Regions from separate parts of the Homo sapiens genome. Here all the other regions are linked to region 1. Evidence: promoter capture Hi-C in 16 types of primary human blood cells and fetal thymus (Javierre and others, 2016). All regions are on one chromosome and are shown on one strand. Each heading gives the region's core, a stretch centred on a gene start or on the middle of the fragment in contact. The rest is flanking DNA. Distances are from core to core; before and after follow the strand shown.

The links. The method cuts DNA at HindIII sites, captures the fragments that hold promoters and counts their contacts. A CHiCAGO score of 5 or more calls a contact.
Region 2: a fragment that was not itself captured here is called in contact with the fragment with the promoter of PRC1-AS1 in region 1 in 1 of 17 cell types (erythroblasts); the score reaches 6.2 in erythroblasts.
Region 3: a fragment that was not itself captured here is called in contact with the fragment with the promoter of PRC1-AS1 in region 1 in 1 of 17 cell types (erythroblasts); the score reaches 5.1 in erythroblasts.
Region 4: a fragment that was not itself captured here is called in contact with the fragment with the promoter of PRC1-AS1 in region 1 in 1 of 17 cell types (erythroblasts); the score reaches 5.0 in erythroblasts.
Region 5: a fragment that was not itself captured here is called in contact with the fragment with the promoter of PRC1-AS1 in region 1 in 1 of 17 cell types (erythroblasts); the score reaches 5.4 in erythroblasts.
Region 6: a fragment that was not itself captured here is called in contact with the fragment with the promoter of PRC1-AS1 in region 1 in 1 of 17 cell types (erythroblasts); the score reaches 8.4 in erythroblasts.
Region 7: a contact is called between a fragment that was not itself captured here and the fragment with the promoter of PRC1-AS1 in region 1, in 1 of 17 cell types (erythroblasts). The highest score is 6.2, in erythroblasts.

The regions. Positions count from the first base shown.
Region 1 is chr15:90,965,049-90,967,797 of GRCh38, reverse strand. PRC1-AS1 (PRC1 antisense RNA 1) reads right to left here and starts at 1,429. Exons shown (of 4, transcript NR_051984.1): 1 at 1,120-1,429. It overlaps PRC1 (protein regulator of cytokinesis 1), which reads left to right. Exons shown (of 15, transcript NM_003981.4): 15 at 596-1,758. The coding sequence ends at 667. The HindIII fragment of the contact is 668 bases long and covers 974-1,641 here.
Region 2 is chr15:92,946,354-92,949,102 of GRCh38, reverse strand. It overlaps CHD2 (chromodomain helicase DNA binding protein 2), which reads right to left. Exons shown (of 39, transcript NM_001271.4): 13 at 27-151. Among named protein-coding and RNA genes, the nearest start is that of MIR3175, 43 kb to the right of the region's middle. The HindIII fragment of the contact is 565 bases long and covers 968-1,532 here.
Region 3 is chr15:92,929,445-92,932,193 of GRCh38, reverse strand. All of the region lies in intron 5 of CHD2 (chromodomain helicase DNA binding protein 2), which reads right to left. Among named protein-coding and RNA genes, the nearest start is that of MIR3175, 26 kb to the right of the region's middle. The HindIII fragment of the contact is 4,783 bases long and covers 1-2,749 here.
Region 4 is chr15:92,896,414-92,899,162 of GRCh38, reverse strand. It overlaps CHASERR (CHD2 adjacent suppressive regulatory RNA), which reads right to left. Exons shown (of 6, transcript NR_037601.1): 6 at 416-1,439. Among named protein-coding and RNA genes, the nearest start is that of CHD2, 2.5 kb to the left of the region's middle. The HindIII fragment of the contact is 1,161 bases long and covers 670-1,830 here.
Region 5 is chr15:89,247,930-89,250,678 of GRCh38, reverse strand. All of the region lies in intron 2 of FANCI (FA complementation group I), which reads right to left. Among named protein-coding and RNA genes, the nearest start is that of FANCI, 5.3 kb to the right of the region's middle. The HindIII fragment of the contact is 3,959 bases long and covers 1-2,749 here.
Region 6 is chr15:89,274,817-89,277,565 of GRCh38, reverse strand. It overlaps FANCI (FA complementation group I), which reads right to left. Exons shown (of 38, transcript NM_001113378.2): 13 at 675-855. Among named protein-coding and RNA genes, the nearest start is that of FANCI, 32 kb to the right of the region's middle. The HindIII fragment of the contact is 945 bases long and covers 874-1,818 here.
Region 7 is chr15:89,310,803-89,313,551 of GRCh38, reverse strand. It overlaps FANCI (FA complementation group I), which reads right to left. Exons shown (of 38, transcript NM_001113378.2): 35 at 580-648. Among named protein-coding and RNA genes, the nearest start is that of MIR6766, 15 kb to the left of the region's middle. The HindIII fragment of the contact is 9,693 bases long and covers 1-2,749 here.

The DNA.
Region 1 (2,749 bases), core at 180-2,679:
GTGGGGCAATTTCATTGTGCACATATCAGAGTGTACTTAACAGTCCTAGACAGAACAGCCTACACACCTAAACTATATGGTATGGCGTTTTCCTCCTAGGCTACAAACCTGGGCAGCATGTTACAGAAAGAATACTGTAGGCAATTGTGGGTTTTTTTGATTCAGGCTATTCCTGGGATACTGTAGGCAATTGTAACGCAATGGTAAGTATTTGTGTATCTAAACATAGAAAAGGTACAGTAAAAATATGGTATAATCTTATGGGACCACCATAGTGTATGTGGCCTGTCGTTAACTGAAACATCATTATGCAGTGCATGACTGTATGAAGGATTTCTCTTCTGTGAGGTGTAACAGAATGGACTGGCTGAGGAAAAAGGGGTCACGGGCATGCGTGCACATGCACTCTGTCTGTGACTAATAGAATGGTGCTCAGAGTTCCTCACCTTTTACTCCTAACGCAGCCTATTGCAGGCTAGGGATCTCAGAGAAACTACCTTCAAGGGACCTTTTGCTGACACTTAACCAAACTTAGAAGGGTGGGCCATGTGTAAGAGAGGCAGTATGGCCACTGATGTTATTTATTTTTCAACAGCGAGAACTTTCAAAGGCTTCCAAATCTGATGCTACTTCTGGAATCCTCAATTCAACCAACATCCAGTCCTGAGAAGCCCTGATCAGTCAACCAGCTGTGGCTTCCTGTGCCTAGACTGGACCTAATTATATGGGGGTGACTTTAGTTTTTCTTCAGCTTAGGCGTGCTTGAAACCTTGGCCAGGTTCCATGACCATGGGCCTAACTTAAAGATGTGAATGAGTGTTACAGTTGAAAGCCCATCATAGGTTTAGTGGTCCTAGGAGACTTGGTTTTGACTTATATACATGAAAAGTTTATGGCAAGAAGTGCAAATTTTAGCATATGGGGCCTGACTTCTCTACCACATAATTCTACTTGCTGAAGCATGATCAAAGCTTGTTTTATTTCACCACTGTAGGAAAATGATTGACTATGCCCATCCCTGGGGGTAATTTTGGCATGTATACCTGTAACTAGTAATTAACATCTTTTTTGTTTAGGCATGTTCAATTAATGCTGTAGCTATCATAGCTTTGCTCTTACCTGAAGCCTTGTCCCCACCACACAGGACAGCCTTCCTCCTGAAGAGAATGTCTTTGTGTGTCCGAAGTTGAGATGGCCTGCCCTACTGCCAAAGAGGTGACAGGAAGGCTGGGAGCAGCTTTGTTAAATTGTGTTCAGTTCTGTTACACAGTGCATTGCCCTTTGTTGGGGGTATGCATGTATGAACACACATGCTTGTCGGAACGCTTTCTCGGCGTTTGTCCCTTGGCTCTCATCTCCCCCATTCCTGTGCCTACTTTGCCTGAGTTCTTCTACCCCCGCAGTTGCCAGCCACATTGGGAGTCTGTTTGTTCCAATGGGTTGAGCTGTCTTTGTCGTGGAGATCTGGAACTTTGCACATGTCACTACTGGGGAGGTGTTCCTGCTCTAGCTTCCACGATGAGGCGCCCTCTTTACCTATCCTCTCAATCACTACTCTTCTTGAAGCACTATTATTTATTCTTCCGCTGTCTGCCTGCAGCAGTACTACTGTCAACATAGTGTAAATGGTTCTCAAAAGCTTACCAGTGTGGACTTGGTGTTAGCCACGCTGTTTACTCATACAGTACGTGTCCTGTTTTTAAAATATACAATTATTCTTAAAAATAAATTAAAATCTGTATACTTACATTTCAAAAAGATATAGTGTGGTGTTTCCTTTTTTTCCCCAGTCACTTTTTAGTTGGTTGGTCTGTGTGTGAAAAACAAACACAAAAAACTAAAAGGACCTCCTGGAAATTTTTAGTCAGGAGTGTGATTTTTTTTTTTGAGTCTCACTCTGTCGCCCAGGCTGGAGTACAGTGGCACTATCTTGGTTCAGTGCAACTTCCACCTCCCAGGTTCAAGCGATTCTCCTGCCTCAGCCTCCCGATTTGCTGGGATTACAGGCACGCACCATCACACCTGGCTAATTTTTGTATTTTTAGTAGAGACAGGCTTTCACCATGTTGGCCAGGCTGGTCTTGAACTCCTGACCTCAGATGATCTGCCTGCCTCCCAAAGTGCTGGGATGACAGGCATGAGCCACAGCACCCGGCCGAGTGTGATTTTTAAAATATTCTCTGGTACATTTCTAAATTAAGAATATCTCTTACTCTAATTTTTTGGTGAGAAATATAAAACCTAACCCCTGATGTGTAGAGAGCAAAGGGAGTCCTAGGATGCTTCTGGCTTCAATGCCGTTTGTCTCAATATGGGGAGGCTGCCCAACTTCAACAGCGTTACTGAAGGAGGATGGACATAAACTGCACACATGTGAAGCGTAAGAGAAAAACCATCGCCACAGTCCAGTTAACCAAGTCTCTCTACCCCAGCAGTTCTTCCCACCCCTTTCTCACTCCTCCTTCCCAGCCTCACCCTGCCGAGCAACCACTGATTTTTTTTTTTTTTTTTTTTTTTTTTTTTGAGATGGAGTCTCGCTCTTGCCAGGCTGGAGTGCAGTGGCACAATCTCAGCTCACTGCAATCTCTGCCTCCCAGGTTCAAGGGATTCTCCTGCCTCAGCCTCCCGCGTAGCTGGGACTGCAGGCACGTGCCATCACGCCTGGTAAATTTTTGTATTTTTGGTACAGACAGACAGGGTTTCACTGTATTAGCTAGGATGGTCTCGATCTCCTGACCTCATGATCCGC
Region 2 (2,749 bases), core at 1-2,500, 2.0 Mb before region 1:
AATTGCACTCATATTTTTCTACCTACTTGCACCAGGAATGAGCTAGCCAGTTTAGACCTTCTAGCTGATAATCTCGAAGTTCCAGATTCTCCCCTCCTAAATATGCAGGTTGTTTCTTTAAAGCTACAAATCGTGGTCTCTGCTTCAGGGCCTGAAAAACAAAAGCCCAAGTCTGAGAAAATGTTCTTACTGCTACTATGTTAAAACGCTAGCCACAATTCACATATTCGGCATCAAAGCATAAAAACTCAAATTTCTTTTTTTGAGACGGAGTCTTGCTCTGTCACCCAGGCTGGAGTGCAGTGGCCCAATCTCGGCTCACTGCAAGCTCTGCCTCCCGGGTTCACGCCATTCTCCTGCCTCAGCCTCCCAAGTAGCTGGGACTACATACAGGCGCCCGCCACCACCCACGCCTGGCTATTTTTGTATTTTTAGTAGAGATGGGGTTTCACCATGCTAGCCAGGATGGTCTCGATCTCCTGACCTCGTGATCTGCCCACCTCGGCCTCCCAGAGTGCTGGGATTACAGGCGTGAGCCACCGCGCCTGGCCAAAAACTTAAATTTCATGTGTGTGAATCACCACCTCACTCCATCACCCCTTTCTTCATGGTTAATATTCCATAAGCCAGAGTTAGTTCATCCTCAAATAAAATATTTTTAGTTAACTTGCCCCTTTCCTGAAATAAATCTATGAACATCATTAAATAGCACTTTAGGTCTTGTCTATTATATGGCAGTCAGAGTCTCCTATTTTTCAGAAACAACTATCTTTCTGTTATCTGATTCTAAAGAGTACAAAACATTGCCTCCAGCTGTCATATGCTAAATACAGTTGATCTTCACCATAACAGGATTTGTAAATTCAGAAATGCCGCCCATCTACCTTAAACCCTTTAATTGCGTGAATTTGGTTTTCCCTTCAGAAACAAGCTTCTGAAGGGAAGGTTGTTTTCACCCCCAGAAGCTTAAAGGATAGCATTCTAGTGAGGTCAGTCTCTATGGTTTGCATAAAATGTGGATTCTGTGGCCAAATCAGTTTAGGAAACAACCGATCAAAAAGTTATACAATTTCTTTACTCATGACTTTTCAAAGTCTGAAATGTGTGTCCATAGCGTGAATTTACAGGAGAAATTCATTCAGGGATGTATCTCAAAGTTACATGGCCAAAAAGTCTTTTTTCAGGGGACTTTTCTCTGAAGATTAGTGCTCTATAGCACACATTATGAGAAGTATCATTCTAATAAGAATATTTGATAAGGTTATTGATGTGTTCAGTTCTCTATGAGGGCGGCTGGCAGTGAATGGAATCCGACTGCTTACTCTCAACTCCAAAACCCAGCCATCCATCCACTCCTACCAAACCTACCCCATAACTGTTCTCCCATCCACTCCTTCCACGCCACTGTTACTTCCCTTGTCCTCACACTACTTCTTCATTCGTGGACTTCAATGACATCTTACTGGCTGGACCTTCTGGCTTTAATAATTACTTACTCCAGAGTCTCCTATATACTGCTATTACATGAAGCTTTCTAAATAAAACTATTTCATAATGCCACTGTACTCAGCTGTACGAATACCTAGGAGATAAAGTCAAAATACCCTTCGAGGTAGCCAAGACACACACACTTTGACCTTGATGTACTTGTCAACATCATTCCTCTTCTCCTCACCCCTGGGGTCTAGTAGTTCTCCTATTGAACTATAAGAATCTTTCTCTTGATACCTTTCACAGGAGGGCAATACCCTGGGCCCCCTCTTGTCTGTATAGCCAGCAGCACCAATCCATTATACAAGGGCCAGATGCAGTTCAACAACCACAACTTCCTCTTAAAACCCATTCAATGACCACTGGAGCTCAGAGACTTCTACATTGGTGCTTCTCTGACCACATTTTCCCTATCACACTCTTTGGCAATTAAATACTGGTTTTCACAGATAGAATTCTAGTGCCATTAACATGAATGTCAACTTCTCAGAGACGTATCACTTGTCTGATATTTCATTACTGAGGACCCAAGCACATCAGTTTCCTGATGGAATAAATTCCAAGGAAAGGATTTATTCAGCCAATCTAGCAAATAAGCCTATATATTTAATTTCTAACTTAGAATTCAAAGACACTCGCCTTTTCTATCACTTCCCGCTCTCTATTTTTTTTTTTTTTTAGAGAACGGGTATCACAATCTTCCCCAGGTTGGCCTCAAACTCCTGTGCTCAAGCAATCCTGCCGCCTCAGCCTCCCAAGTAGCTGGAACCACAGGTGTGAGCCACTGCAACTGGCTTCACTTCTCTTTTAAAGTGCCTAAATGCAACTGGGCATGGTGGCTCACGCCTGTAATCCCAGCACTTTGGGAGGCCAAGGTGGGTGGATCATTTGAGGTCAGGAGTTTGAGACCAGCCTGACCAACATGGTGAAACCCCATCTCTGCTAAAAATACAAAAAATTAGCTGGAAGTGGTGGTGCGTGCCTGTAATCCCAGCTGCTCAGGAGGCTGAGGCAGGAGAATCACTTAAACCCAGGAGGCAGAGGTTGCAGTTAGCCAAGATAGTGCCAGTGCACTCCAGCCTGGGCGACACAGCGAAACTCTGTCTCAAAATAAAATAATAAAATAAAATAAAATAAAAGTGCCTAAATCCTTTCAAGTATTCTCTCAAATATCTCTATTTCTAATTATGTAAATTGCAAGATTAAACAAGTCAGCAAAGCCATGAAATAATTCATTCTCTCCTTTTGCTTTAATGTC
Region 3 (2,749 bases), core at 116-2,615, 2.0 Mb before region 1:
CTGAAATATGAATCAGACAAAAGTACATCAGCAGCCAGGTGCGGTGGCTCAAGCCTGCAATCCCAGCACTCTGGGAGGCCAAGACAGGCTGATAACGAGGTCAAGAGACTGAGACCATCCTGGCCAACATGGTGAAACCCCGTCTCTATTAAAAATAGAAAAAATTAGCTGGACGTGGTGGCGCACGCCTGTAGTCCCAGCTACTCGGGAGGCTAAGGCAGGAGAATTGCTTGAACCCCGGAGGCGGAGGCTGCAGTGAGCCGAGATTGCGCCACTGTACCCCAGCCTGGCGACAAAGCCAGACTGCGTCTCAAAAAAAAAAAAAAAAAAGTACGTCAGCAATGTTTTAAATCTAAGTTGAATCTGTACTGTACTGTGCTTATAAAAGAGAAAATCCTTATTTTTAAGAAATACACCTTACATATTTAAGGTAAAGGGATAAAAGGTAAAATTTTATGAATTTTAGTCTCAAATAGTTCATAAAAAACATTATGTTTGTATATATATAAATATACACAGGCTGGGTGCAGTGGCTCACGTATGCTAATCCCAACACTTTTGGAGAGCAAGGTGAGAGGATAACTTGAGGCCAGGAGTTTGAGAACAGCCAGGGCAACGTAGTGAGACCTCTATGTCTACAAAAATACAAAATCAGGCATGGTGGTGCACGCCTGTCGTCCCAGCTACTTGGGAGGCTGAGGTAGGAGGATCACTTGAGCTCAGGAGATTGAGGCTGCAGAGAGCCAAGGTTGCACCACTGCACTCTAGCCTAGGTGACAGAGCAAGACCCTCTCTCTTAAATAAACAGCACCCATAATAATAAAGCAAATGGAGGAAAAATGGTAATCTGGGTAAAGTATATAAGGTGTCCTTTGTACTGCACTTTTATTCTTGCAACTTTCCTAAAGTTTGGAATTAATTTTTTTAAACCAATTTTACAAAATGGTCCCTTTTTAAAAACTCTAAAATGTGTGAATAAAATCTGCAGGGTTTCAGAAAAGCATTTCTTTGTGCCAATATTTCAAACCTTTCACTCTCTGAGTGAGTCTGAATTCTGAAATGCATGTGACCACACATTAGGTTATGTTACACTTGCTCAGCTTGGATCACAGAAGGCTCCTAAAGTGCCTTGCAACTTGAGTGTCAGCAGCTACAAGACCTCCCCTAATTAATCTTTCAGGAATCTCAACTGGTGACTCAGGAGAAGAGCTCTCTGTAAATCCACAATACTCACCAGCTGGCCAGAGAATAGCAGAAACGAAGGCTAGCCCAGTGCCCAAACACAGGAACATGAGGGGAACTATCTCAGCCCAAGGCAGTTCCTATGAACAGCCCTAGGGTAGGGAAGCAATATGAAAAAGAAGACAGATCCCACTCTGCAAGGAACTAAGAGGTTCTACTCAGGAAAAGAAAGGTCCATATATGCTACTGAAGGTTGCCAACTTTGGGGAATTCTTAAGACTGATAAGTGGCGGGGCACAGTGGCTCACACCTGTAATCCTAGGAGACCGAGGCTGGAGGACTGCTTGAGCTCAGGAGGTTGAAACCAGCCTGAGAAACATAGTGAGACCCCATCTATACAATAAATTTTTAAAAACTTAGCTGGGCATGATAGCACATGCCTGTAGTCCCAGCTACTCGAGTGGCTTAGGTGGGTCAATTAAGTCCAGCAAGCCAAGGCTGCAGTGAGCTGAGATCAAGCCACTGCACTCCAGCCTGAGCAACAGAGTGAGACCCTGTCTCAAAACAAAACAAAACAAAAAGGCTGACAAGACTATGAGCCAGTAACCAGAGTAAGCGCAATGTATTATACAGTGACTGAAAAAAACGCTGGCTTCTGCACACACAAATAAGGCCATTAAAATAGGAAGTCAAGAATTCAAGCATAGCACCATTTAACTTGCAGTCAAGAGACCAAAGGAATGTAGCCAGATGGTGAAGTAATGATTACATGCATGGATTTCCCAGGGTGTAATCAAGGTGGACATTTCAGGAAAGATACTCAAAAGGCCATTAGACCAGTAAGCAGATAATAGTCTCCCAAGCAGACCAGGAGACTGGGGCAGAACAAAAGCCTTCTAAGATGCCAAGTGCAGGTTTGCTTACAGTTACTATTTCTCCAAAACACAAATGAAAACTGAATGCGCTCTAGCAGGGCAAAATTAAGTACTTTTCTGTAAGGCTCTGTAATACCCTACATTTATTTAATGTCACAAAATCTTAGCATAGTTTCTAATAATCCTGTTGGGTAGATGGTATTATTTTTTTTTTTGGAGATGAGGAAATGGGTTTTAAAATCTCAAATGACTTGCCTTAGGCCACTTACTAAAGAGTAATAATATTTTACAACAGAGCATATGTACCTAGAGCTCTTAATAGAAGCCATGGACAACTGTTTAACATGAGAACCCCTGAACTGGTATACAAAGTTTTGAATATCTACATTTTTGAGAGAAGCTATAGAATTCAGATTGTCAACGGGATCCACACCCTCTCCAAAAAATGACTTTAAAAATTATTTCTCAAAAAAAATCAAATAATTTCATATCATATAAATCGAACTTTTTAAATTAAAAAATCAACATATAAATCTATGTTATAAAGAAACTCCACATTAAGTCCACAAATTAAATTTTTCTGGCTTATGAACTGCAACATTAAAATTATACAGAAACAACAATATGTAATTTCTTACCAAAATGGATGTTCAGCCAATATAATTTTGCCATAAAAATAGCAAATCTACATT
Region 4 (2,749 bases), core at 1-2,500, 1.9 Mb before region 1:
ACACCAAACAAAATCAACAATGTCCAATCTAGGTAAAATCCATAATCCAAACTGTTTCAATTCCATACTCTACACACAAAGATAAATTTCGTAGCAAGAACAATATCCAAAATTCCATTTTTGAATTTAACAAAGACCAACCACCTCACATCAGTCAATAACAAATGGTGCTCGTGTATTAACCATGGATGTGTATGCTGCAGTATTTGACATGAATCACAAACAGTATGATTAACACAAAACAATTTAACCTGAACTATTTATTCTTCTCATGTAAAATGGGAAAACAGAATCAAGAACTCATTTTGTCTACCAAAATAATGCCTACCACCTTTGTAATAGTTACCAAAACTGGTATCAGTTGATTAGTAATAAATGAAAACCTGGCATTTAAAAATCAAACGTAAGTAATCTATGGCAGGGTGCAATTCATTTATTCTAAATCCCCAATTGTACAAAATAAAGACGATACAAGATATTAATCCTACTTCAAAGTTATATAAAATGGATTACACACATAATTTCAAATTTAAAAAATTGTGAATACTCCAAGGACCCTAACCCATAAATCCAACACTTCTTCCTCTAATAGTAAGACAATAGGAGACATTAATTTAAATATTCAGATGAATATTCTATAGCAAGATGTATTTATAGTATTAAAAAGCTTAAGAAACCATTTCAATCAACACAAAATAATTCAGAAGTATATGTGTATCACTCATCCTGAATTTTCGAGCAACAAGCAGTTTGTTTCAAGTTCATTAAAATCTTGTGGCAGATTAAAATCAGATTCTATTATTACCCATTGAGTTGTTTTGAAAGGTGTTTCATGAAAGCACAAACAAAACAGTATTTAAACCAAATGACCATCTAAGAGCACAACTTTGTGAAAAACGTAAATCTTCATAAACCAAGTAAAATGTTTTCGATTACACCATTTCCAATTTACCAGCTTTATTCATATTCAGTACACTTTACCACTCGGCAACTACAAAGGCCAAAGTATTACTAAAATAAAACTAAACATTTAATTAAACTTCCACTTAAAAAAAAAAACCCAAACTGAGAAATTTTTAAGTGTTACAAATTTTATTAAAAATTAACATTTCAAGAGGTCATACGCATACAAATCAAACTGCAAAAAATTCCAGGCATAAAAACTATTATCTGGGTTAGTGTGCCATCTTTCTTCTCCAAATGTCAAAATGTCCACAAAAAAAGTCTTTAGAAAGTCAAATCCACTGTCCATTTGTGTTGGGTAAGAAACCTATGTCTTCATTCACTGCATGGAATCCATGTTAAAAGAACCCTGTCTTGGTTGTATATTATCACAGGACTCTTGTATTAATCCATTTTTCCTCAATTCCCCATAGTAGACTGCCATCTTGATTTCTCAGTGGTAGGGTCCATTTGAAACTCTTCAAGCTGACTGGGTGCTTGATGAAAAAATTAAAAGAAAAAAACGCTGTTGGCATCTTAATCTTTTAAACAGAAAACATCCACCCACCTTGAAGATATCCTACCATACACAAAACTTTCATTTTGTAACAGCTTTCAACTATGAAATTGTAAAGTTGTATGCAAAACACACACACAACTCCTTGATAAGACTGCACGCCAAAGTAACAAAGTCCTTGTACTACCACAGATACATTTGTATCTATAAAAAAGTCCCAGTGAAGAGTCAGATTTTTAATATTTAACACTAACATCATTATACTGTGTACATAAAAAGTAAAAACAAAAATTAAAATTCAAAATTCCTGGAAAGCTAAATTACAGAAACACTGTGGATTCTAAATCTCAATGCAGAAAACTTTCCAAGCTTCTTCAAAGAAAACTAATTATAGAAAAGAATCTTAAGGGATTTGAAAAAAAAAAAAAACATACACACATAAAGCAGTCGATCATAGCATAGTTTTTCAATCCAACAGATGTTGGTTTTGTTTAGATAACGAAAATGGCCACTATAGGTGGCACCATCTTTAACGACATATCTGAGAATACAGAAAAGATGTAGCCACCAAAAAAAAAAAAAAAAAAAAAAGATCAAAAATGCAAAGTATCTGCCTGGCTTGATAGATTTGCCATAAAATGCTGTTTTCAAATTATATGCAACTAAAATAATACACTTTCATTACCAAAATACCAAATGTCTCTCATAGAAAAACAAATCCATTACTTAAATAATTTTAACTGAAGGGAGAAGTGAGAAGTGAGAAGTCAGATGATTTTATCATTAAATAAATGATTCAGATTCATCATGACCAAACATAATTTGAAAAAACAAGATTTAAACCCTGGTCTTCTCTATAAATTTTCCAGCTCTCCATCTGAATTTGTGGAGATACAGTCAAGTGTGACTGAATTTGAGGTAAATAAATATAAGGGCATTTTTGCCCATTAGGTAATTCCTTGTCTCCTTGGCAACAATTAGGATACTGTTTACTATATACAATACAAAAATCTACTTACTTAACTATTTGGTTAACTGAGATACTGCCACCCATATTAAAAAACATTGATTAAAGGGAGTGTCACAGCATCAGTAATAAATATCAAAAGCAAGATATTTCTCCTTGATTTTGCTCATTTCTCCCCAGCTTTAAAAAGAAAACTAAATTACTCAATTCATTCCTGATCTCAGTAAAAATCTTCCATCTGACTTGTTCATTCCTTAAAATTAAGGGACATGTACTTCTATAGAGAAGTATAAAAGTAAAAACATCATTCTCTGTCAGAGTTA
Region 5 (2,749 bases), core at 139-2,638, 1.7 Mb after region 1:
TAGGGTACATGTGCACAACATGCAGGTTTGTTACATATGCGTACATGTGCCATGTTGGTGTGCTGCACCCATTAACTCGTCATTTACATTAGGTGTATCTCCTAATGCTATCCCTCCCCCCTCCCCTCACTCCACAACAGGCCCCGGTGTGTGATGTTCCCATTCCCGTGTCCAAGTGTTCTCACTGTTCAATTCCCACCTATGAGTGAGAACATGTGGGGTTTGGTTTTTTTGTCCTTGCGATAGTTTGCTGAGAATGATGGCTTCCAGCTTCATCCATGTCCCTACAAAGGACATGAACTCATCATTTTTTATGGCTGCATAGTATTCCATGGTGTAGATGTGCCACATTTTCTTAATCCAGTCTATCATTGTTGGACACTTGGGTTGGTTCCAAGTCTTTGCTATTGTGAATAGTGCCGCAATAAACATACGTGTGAATGTGTCTTTATAGCAGCATGATTTACAGTCCTTTGGGTATATACCCAGTAATGGGATCACTGGGTCAAATGGTATTTCTAGTTCTAGATCCCTGAGAAATCGCCACACTGTCTTCCACAATGGTTGAATAGAAGGTATTTTAATTTCCAAGTAAAAGTGTCTTTGCTTTTTGACTTTTAGTTTCGGTTTTCATTTCCAGTTTTATTGCATTGTGATCACAGAGAATAGTTTGTAATAATTCTACCTTATGGGACCTACCCATGTTTTCTTTGTGCTCTAGTATATGACATGTGATTAATTTTTATGAACATTCTATGTGTTTAAGAAGATAATATATTCTTATCAAAGTTCTCTGCATATATTTTAAATATTCTTTATATTTTCCACCTCTTTACAATCTGTGCTTTATTTAGTTATCCTCAGCTCTGTATTCCACTTTACTAATTTTCTCTTTAGCAATGTTTTGTCTACTGTTAAACCACCTACTGAGGTTTTCATTTCAAGAAGTTGTCTTTCATTGTTTTCTAAATCCATCCCTTATTTTGTGAGTTCTATTCCTTCATTTACATCTTCAAATATTTTAAATACTAGGTCAGGCAGAGTGGCTCACACGTGTAATCCCGGCACTGTGGGAGGCTGAGGTGGGTGGATTGCTTGAGCTCAGGAGTTCAAGACCAGCCTGGAAAGCATGGCGAAACCCCATCTCTGCTAAAAATACAAAAATTAGTCGGACATGGTGGCACATGCTTGTACTCCCAGCTACTCAGGAGGCTGAGGTGGGAGGATCGCATGAGCCCAGGAGGTTGAGGCTGCAGTGTGCCGAGATCGCCCCACTGCACTCCAGCCTGTGCAAGGGTGAGATCCCACCTTTAAATAAATAAAGTTAAATACTGTATTAAGTATTTGTGTTAAATAATTAAAGATTTTTTTCAGATTGCTCTAAATCCTTGAATATGAATTTTCCCATTTCTGTTTGAGTCTTTCTTGCCACAGGACTTCTTTATGTGTTTTATAATTTTTTACTCTGAGTTCATCTTCTGTGGGACATTTTATCAAATGAACTGCCTGCATATATTACTGACATGCTTAACAAATTTGTAGAGGATAAAAAGCTGATTAATACGGTCAGCAGAATCATACAAAATGATCTTGATGGAGTAAAACAAGATGAATCTAAAAAAGGTGACAGTTAACAGATATAAAGTTTGTTGTTTTGGTAGTTGTTTTTAGAAACTGGGTCTCACTATGTTGCCTAAGCTGATCTCGAACTCCTGGCCTAAAGGAATCCTCCCAAAGTGCTGGGACTACAGGTGTAAGTCACCATGCCTGGCCTATATATAGTTTTTAACATGGATTCTAAAAGGACTTCAGAGATAAAGGAAACTTAGCAACTTATCAACATATACAAAAATAAATATAAGAGCAATGAGACTACAATATAATGTTGCTGCCAAAAAGCTGATTTTGCATTAATGGAAAAATGAGGGAAATATTAGCATTACTCTATCCTAGAGTCAGAAAACATCTGGAACACTGTCTTCAATTTGACAGTGTTCACGCCTTCAATTTGAGGCATGAAACTTTAAATAAATAATTTAAATGCTAGTTTCAATCAAATCTTGTCTATAGAATGATTCAAGTTACAACTCATGCAACAAGTCATCTCAAAAAATAGCTATAAAGGCAATCTTGGATAATTTCAAAGAAAAAAAAATCAAAGAGCAACACTGCATCAATTCCTAGTTAGTATGTCAGATAACACACACTAAGATGCACCTTCCTTCAATAACTACAACATTAACACAAAGAAATTCCCTTAAAAACATAATACTCATCAATTGACAGAAAAAGGAAAAAAATCCCATGATACTCAATGTCTTTACTTGTTTGTACATATACCTTGAAGAGGGATTCTTTTCCAGGCAGGGACCTGGATAGGATGAGATCACTTATGGAAAAAGGAGCAGTATATCAGCTGAGAAAGAACATTAGGGAGAAGAAACAGCCTAACATATAAGGCAATTACTATCCCATTTTATAATCCTACACTTATAGTGAAAACAGAGGCCCTAATTTTTACTAATAATTTCAAAATATTTTGCCGCTTATAAACTTAATTTCTTTACGGAAAAATACAGAGAAGCATCAAAATGCAAAACTAATGTCTCAATCAGTAACTATAGTCTGGATATTATCATCAAATAGGATTGTTCTGAGGACCATAAAAGTATACTAATTGCTTTTATAAATACAGTTGTAAAAGCATTCTATTCTTAAACTATTTCAGGTTTAAACTTGGTCACAAATG
Region 6 (2,749 bases), core at 97-2,596, 1.7 Mb after region 1:
AACACAGCTCACTGTAGCCTTGACTTCCTGGGCTCAAGTGATCCACCTCAGTCACCTAAGTAGCTGGGACTGCAGGTGCGTGCCACCACACCTGGCTAATTTTTGTGTTTTTTGTAGAGATGAGGTTTCGCCACGTTGCCCAGGCTGGTCTCAAACTCCTGAGCTCAAGTGATCTGCCCACCTCAGCCTCCCAAAGTGTTGGGATTATAGGCTTGAGCCACCATGCCCGACCAAGCATGATTCTTTTTTTGTTTTATTTTCAGTAAAAATTCTTAAGCATGATTCTTTAAGCTTGATGCTCTACAGTGACCTAAAAAAATTTCTTCTGTGTAAAGGAACAGCATTAAAACAAAACAAAACAAAAACTAGAAATGGTTTACTTCTGGAAGAAGAAGGAAAAATCATGAAAAAGCTGTCTTATATTCAAACTTCTAGGTCAGAAACAATTGGATTAAGTGGAATAAATGAAAAACTTACATAGAAGAATACGTAAGTAAGTATTCCATCAAACTGGATCTATAATGTTTCAATATTATCCTAATCTCTGTCATATATCCTCTGTCAAACTAATACATACTCAAATTTCCTTGTCCACCAAACTCCCAGGCAAATGCCAAGCCCTACTTGGATTATTTAAACAAAATTAGGGAGTGGTTGCCAAAATAGTGTCTCACCTTAAAAGTTTCCAACAGGATATTAGCTCCGAGCTTACATGCATGCTGGTTTGGCATTCTAGAAAGACTTGGGCTGGTTTCAATAGTTTTTCCATCAAGAACCTTCTTTGGCCCATATGAATCCATCAAAATGAAACCAAGTTCTACGAGGCCCTGAGTAACATGGTCCCAGCTATGAACGCTACAAGAACACAAAGCTTAGTTAAAAAAGAAAAACTTAGTGAGATATTCTTACCTTTATACTCATTGCCCTGTTATACATTTCCCAAACTTGACCTAGATAATCAACGTACTCTGCATATAAACCTTTTCTTTACACACATCGTCTGACAGAATTCTGAATTCCTAAATGTACCATAATGGGAACAGCAGGCAAGTGGTCTCCAATGACACACAGAATACTGGGAAAATCCAGAAGCTAGAGAGTATTAAAAAAATTAAAGATTCCTATTCAAGATTTCATGATGAGAAGTTCATTGCTGCCTCTTCTATTACCCTACAGCACTGACAACGCTTATGTAGAGGCTTACAAATTAGCTCCCCTCCAAAGACAGAGATTCTCTAGGAGAGAGGTCATAGTATAGTCATATTTTTACCCACATTGCTTAGCACAAGGGTGGCATATAAAAGACACTCAGTAGATATTTATACTATAAATGGATGAGTGATCTGGTATCAACAGCATAAGCTAAAACTACAAATAATCTTTTGTAAAAGAGTAGAATCATTGGTGGTTTTATACCACTTAATGTTATACCCCACAGTGGAAATAATGTGAATATAACCTTTATCCATTATATCTACCTGTTAAATTGCAACAAATTATAATGCAGCACTACAGAATGAAGTAGACAGTTATGGATAAATTATAAGACTTTAACAGAGTTAACAATATTCATACTCTGAAGAGCCAAAAATTCAATTACATAAAATGGAGAATGCATTATTTAAAGGTTCATTAACTGACTGGGGCAAGCATGTGTAACTAACCAGCCAGTTATTTTAGAGGATCTAATAAGGCTATCCAAATCTCTCCCAGCTGAGGTTTGGTCCCACCCAGTGGCAAGTACCCACTCCAGGCTAATTATACATGGAGATGCTTTCAAGTCCTATGACAGTTGAGATTTCCAGAAGATGGGAAGCTTTCCAGGAATTTCCTGGTTAGTGAGTACCTCCTTCTTTAGCCCAACTTTAAGAGATTGGGTTGGGAAAATACTGGAGACACAAGTATAAACCTCAGGAAAAAGAATAATGAGATACAAAGATTAAAAAGCTTTAAGGCCTAACAATGGGTAAAACACTCAAACAATAAACTCTAATTTCAAATTTGCCCTACTGCAAAGCTCATGTAAATTCAATCTATTAATAAACAAGAATTCCAGGCCTAGAAGAGGCCTACCATAAATTATGCTTAAATTATGAAACTTTAAAATATATTTAATACACAGTGAAAGCATGACATAGTAAAGACTGTTACAACAGCTAATGTATATCCTGAAATTAAAATAAAAACCAGGACAGTTACTGATGTTTTCCATGTGGTTTTAAATGAATTTCTCTAAACTGGCTAATCAATAATTGAATTCCAACTGTACGCTCCAAATTTCAACAAAGTAAATAAAACTCTTAATGTTTTTTACTCACTTTAAAAAGAGGCCATGAGTCAGATGCAGTGGCATGCACCTATTATTGTCCCAGCTACTTGAGAGGCTGAGGCAGGAGGATCAGTTGAGCCCAGAAGATCAAGTCTAGCCTGGGCAACATAGTGAAAAGTTCCTACGTCTTCAGAAAAAAAAAAAAAAAAAAAAGAAGAAAGGCCAAGCCAGGCACAGGGCTACATGCCTATAGTCCCAGCTACTGAGGTGGGAGCATCACTTGAGGCCAGGAGTTTGAGGCTTTACCGTGCTATAATAGAGCCTGTGAATAGCCATTGCACTCCAGCCTGGGCAACATAGTGAGACTGTTTCCTTTAAAAAGGAAAAGAAACGGCCAGGACCGGTGGCTCAAGCCTGTAATCCCAGCACTTTGGGAGGCCAAGGCAGGTGGATTGCTTGAGCTCAGAAGTTCAAGACCAG
Region 7 (2,749 bases), core at 120-2,619, 1.7 Mb after region 1:
TTACACATCTTTTAGGGAGCACCTTTTGCATTCACCAACTTTACCTAAAAATAATTTCTCCCAATTGAGTATCGTAAGTTATTTTACTATTTCCATTTCAACTCAAGATTTTCTGGTGCTTCGTGAATAAAACATGTTTTTGGTTCAGAGGAAAAATAAGATGCTCCATCTGATCATAAAATCCCTGAGTTGAGAAGCAGCCATGTATATAATACACACAATTTTTTCTAACAGCTTGATAGAGCTGTAATTCATATACCATACAATTCACTCACAATGTACTTTTTTTTCAGTATTTGCAGAGTTGTGCAACCATCATCACAGTCAATTCTAAAACATTTTCATCACCCCCAAAAGAAATTCCATACCGTTTTTAGCTGTCACCCCAGTCTCCCCATCTTCCAACCCACCTAGCTCTACGCTACCACTAATCTAGTTTGCCTTTTTAGATGATTTATTCTGGGCACTTCATGAAAATGGAATCATACAACACGTGGTCTTTTTGTCACTGGCTTCTTCCGCTTCATGTTTTCGGGTTCACCAACAAGCATATTTTAACGGTCAGTGTCAGCAGCTTACCATGGCTGTGGCAACGGCAGCAGGTTTCTCCTTTTTCTCTCCCGTATAGTTCAGGCTCTTACTCTTATTCTAAAGAAATAGAAACACATTCTCTTATTCCTGATGATTTTTCTGTGGAGCTAGCATGCTAGTGCTAATTTTTTTTTTTTTTTTTTTAAGACAGAGCTTTGCTGTCACCCAGGCTGGTGTGCAGTGGCGTGATGTCGACCCACTGTAACCTCTGCGCCCCGAGTTAAGTGATTCTTGTGCCTCAGCCTCCCGAGTAGCTGGGACTACAGGCACGTGCCACCACACTCAGCTAATTTTTGTATTTTTAGTAGAGACGGTGTTTTGCCATGTTGGCCAGGCTGGTCTCGAACTCCTGGCCTCAGGTGATCTGCCGGCCTCAGCCTCCCAAAGTGCTGGGATTACAGGCCTAAGCCACCATGCCCACCAACTAGTGGCAATTTTCTTAGAAGGTAATTACACAGGGTATGAGGACCAAGTCTGGAGTAAACAGGACTATCTGTGCAACAGATGTTAGAAGATAGGGAAAAAATGGATGCTTTGTAATCCTCAGATATTTTTTCTTTTTTAGTTGTTGAGAGGTTTACAATCTGTTGTTCTTAGAGCTGGCACATGGAAGTTGAAGGCAGGACTATTACTGCAGTGGGTCAGCCAAGGGGCTGGTGAGGTACTAAAGAATGGTTAAAATGGGGACTGTCAAGGTGGTAGCAGGAATATTCATTTCTATTTCTATTTTAGCCAGTGGGCTAGAAGGATCCCATAAAGGAGAGGAAGCTGAGGAGGCTGCTGCAGGGCCCTGCAGTCTTCCCACTTACAGGCAATCACCAGATATATTTTATTTTCGTTACTCAGCAAAGCCAAAACCAGATATATTTTATGTGCAATGGGTTATCATGCTCAAGAAGGGTTAAAAGGGTCACAGAACACTTCCCTGTGTTGTAAATTATTGGGTAATAAAGAGCTCCTGGAGAGGGATGAATAACTAATAAAAGGAACCAAAAAGTGTAAGATTCTGATAAAGCAAAAGAAAATCAAGACTTGAGTCAGGAGAGACTGGGGAGAAAAACCACCCAAATGTAAGGTACGGTACAGAAATGTAGGCAGCTTTTTACCTCAAGGGGAGTTCTAAACCTTCTTAGGAAGGGAACATACCATGCTCCACGAGGGCAACAGAATAAAGAAACAGACCTGAAAATACAGAGAGGCTCTGCAACTGGAGCCATGAGAGAAACAGGAGACTTGTTCCACATGCCACGTTCTGGAAAATAAGGAACTGCAGACATTCCAGAGGGGCTGGTATGCAGTAATCTGTTTTTGGCCCTGGAAGGCAGGGTAGAGCATGGAAGAGGGTGAAGGCAGCAGAAGAGGGCAAGGAAGCAGTCACGGATCGACCTCACTGACCAAGTGGGAAGTGAACCATCTTCCCAGAGGTTGTGTCCAAGATGGGGCCCTGTTGGAACTCCTTAGATCAACCCTGTTCCCTGCCCATTCCAACTGATCCGGGCGGGCAGGACTAAAATTAGAGCCAGAAGAGAAGCATCTTTTTTTGAGGTGGAGTTTCACTCTGTCGCCCAGGCTGGAGTACAATGGTGCGATCTCAGCTCACTGCAACCTCTGCCTCCCAGGTTCAAGCGATTCTCCTGCCTCAGCTTCCCGAGTAGCTGGGATTACAGGCACGCACTACCATGCCCGGCTAATTTTTTTTTTTGAGACAGAGTCATGCTCTGTTGCCCAGGCTGGAGTGCAGTGGTGTGATCTCATCTCACTGCAACCTCCACCTCCCGGGTTCAAGCAATTCTCCTGCCTCAGCCTCCCGAGTAGCTGGGATTACAGGCGCCTGCCACCATGCCCAGCTAATTTTTGTATTTTTTTTAGTAGAAATGGGGTTTCACCATGTTGGCCGGGCTAGTTTCGAACTCCTGACCTTGTGATCCGCCTGCCTCAGCCTCCCAAAATGCTGAGATTACAGGTGTGAGCCACCGTGCCCTGCTATTTTTTGTATCTTTAGTTGAGACGGGATTTCACCATGTTGGCCAGGCTGGTCTCAAACTCCAGACCTTGTGATTCTCCCACCTCGGCCTCCCAAAGTGCTGGGATTACAGGCATGAGCCACCATGTCCGACCCTTGAGAAGCATCTTTTAAAGGTATACAGTTCTGGGCAGG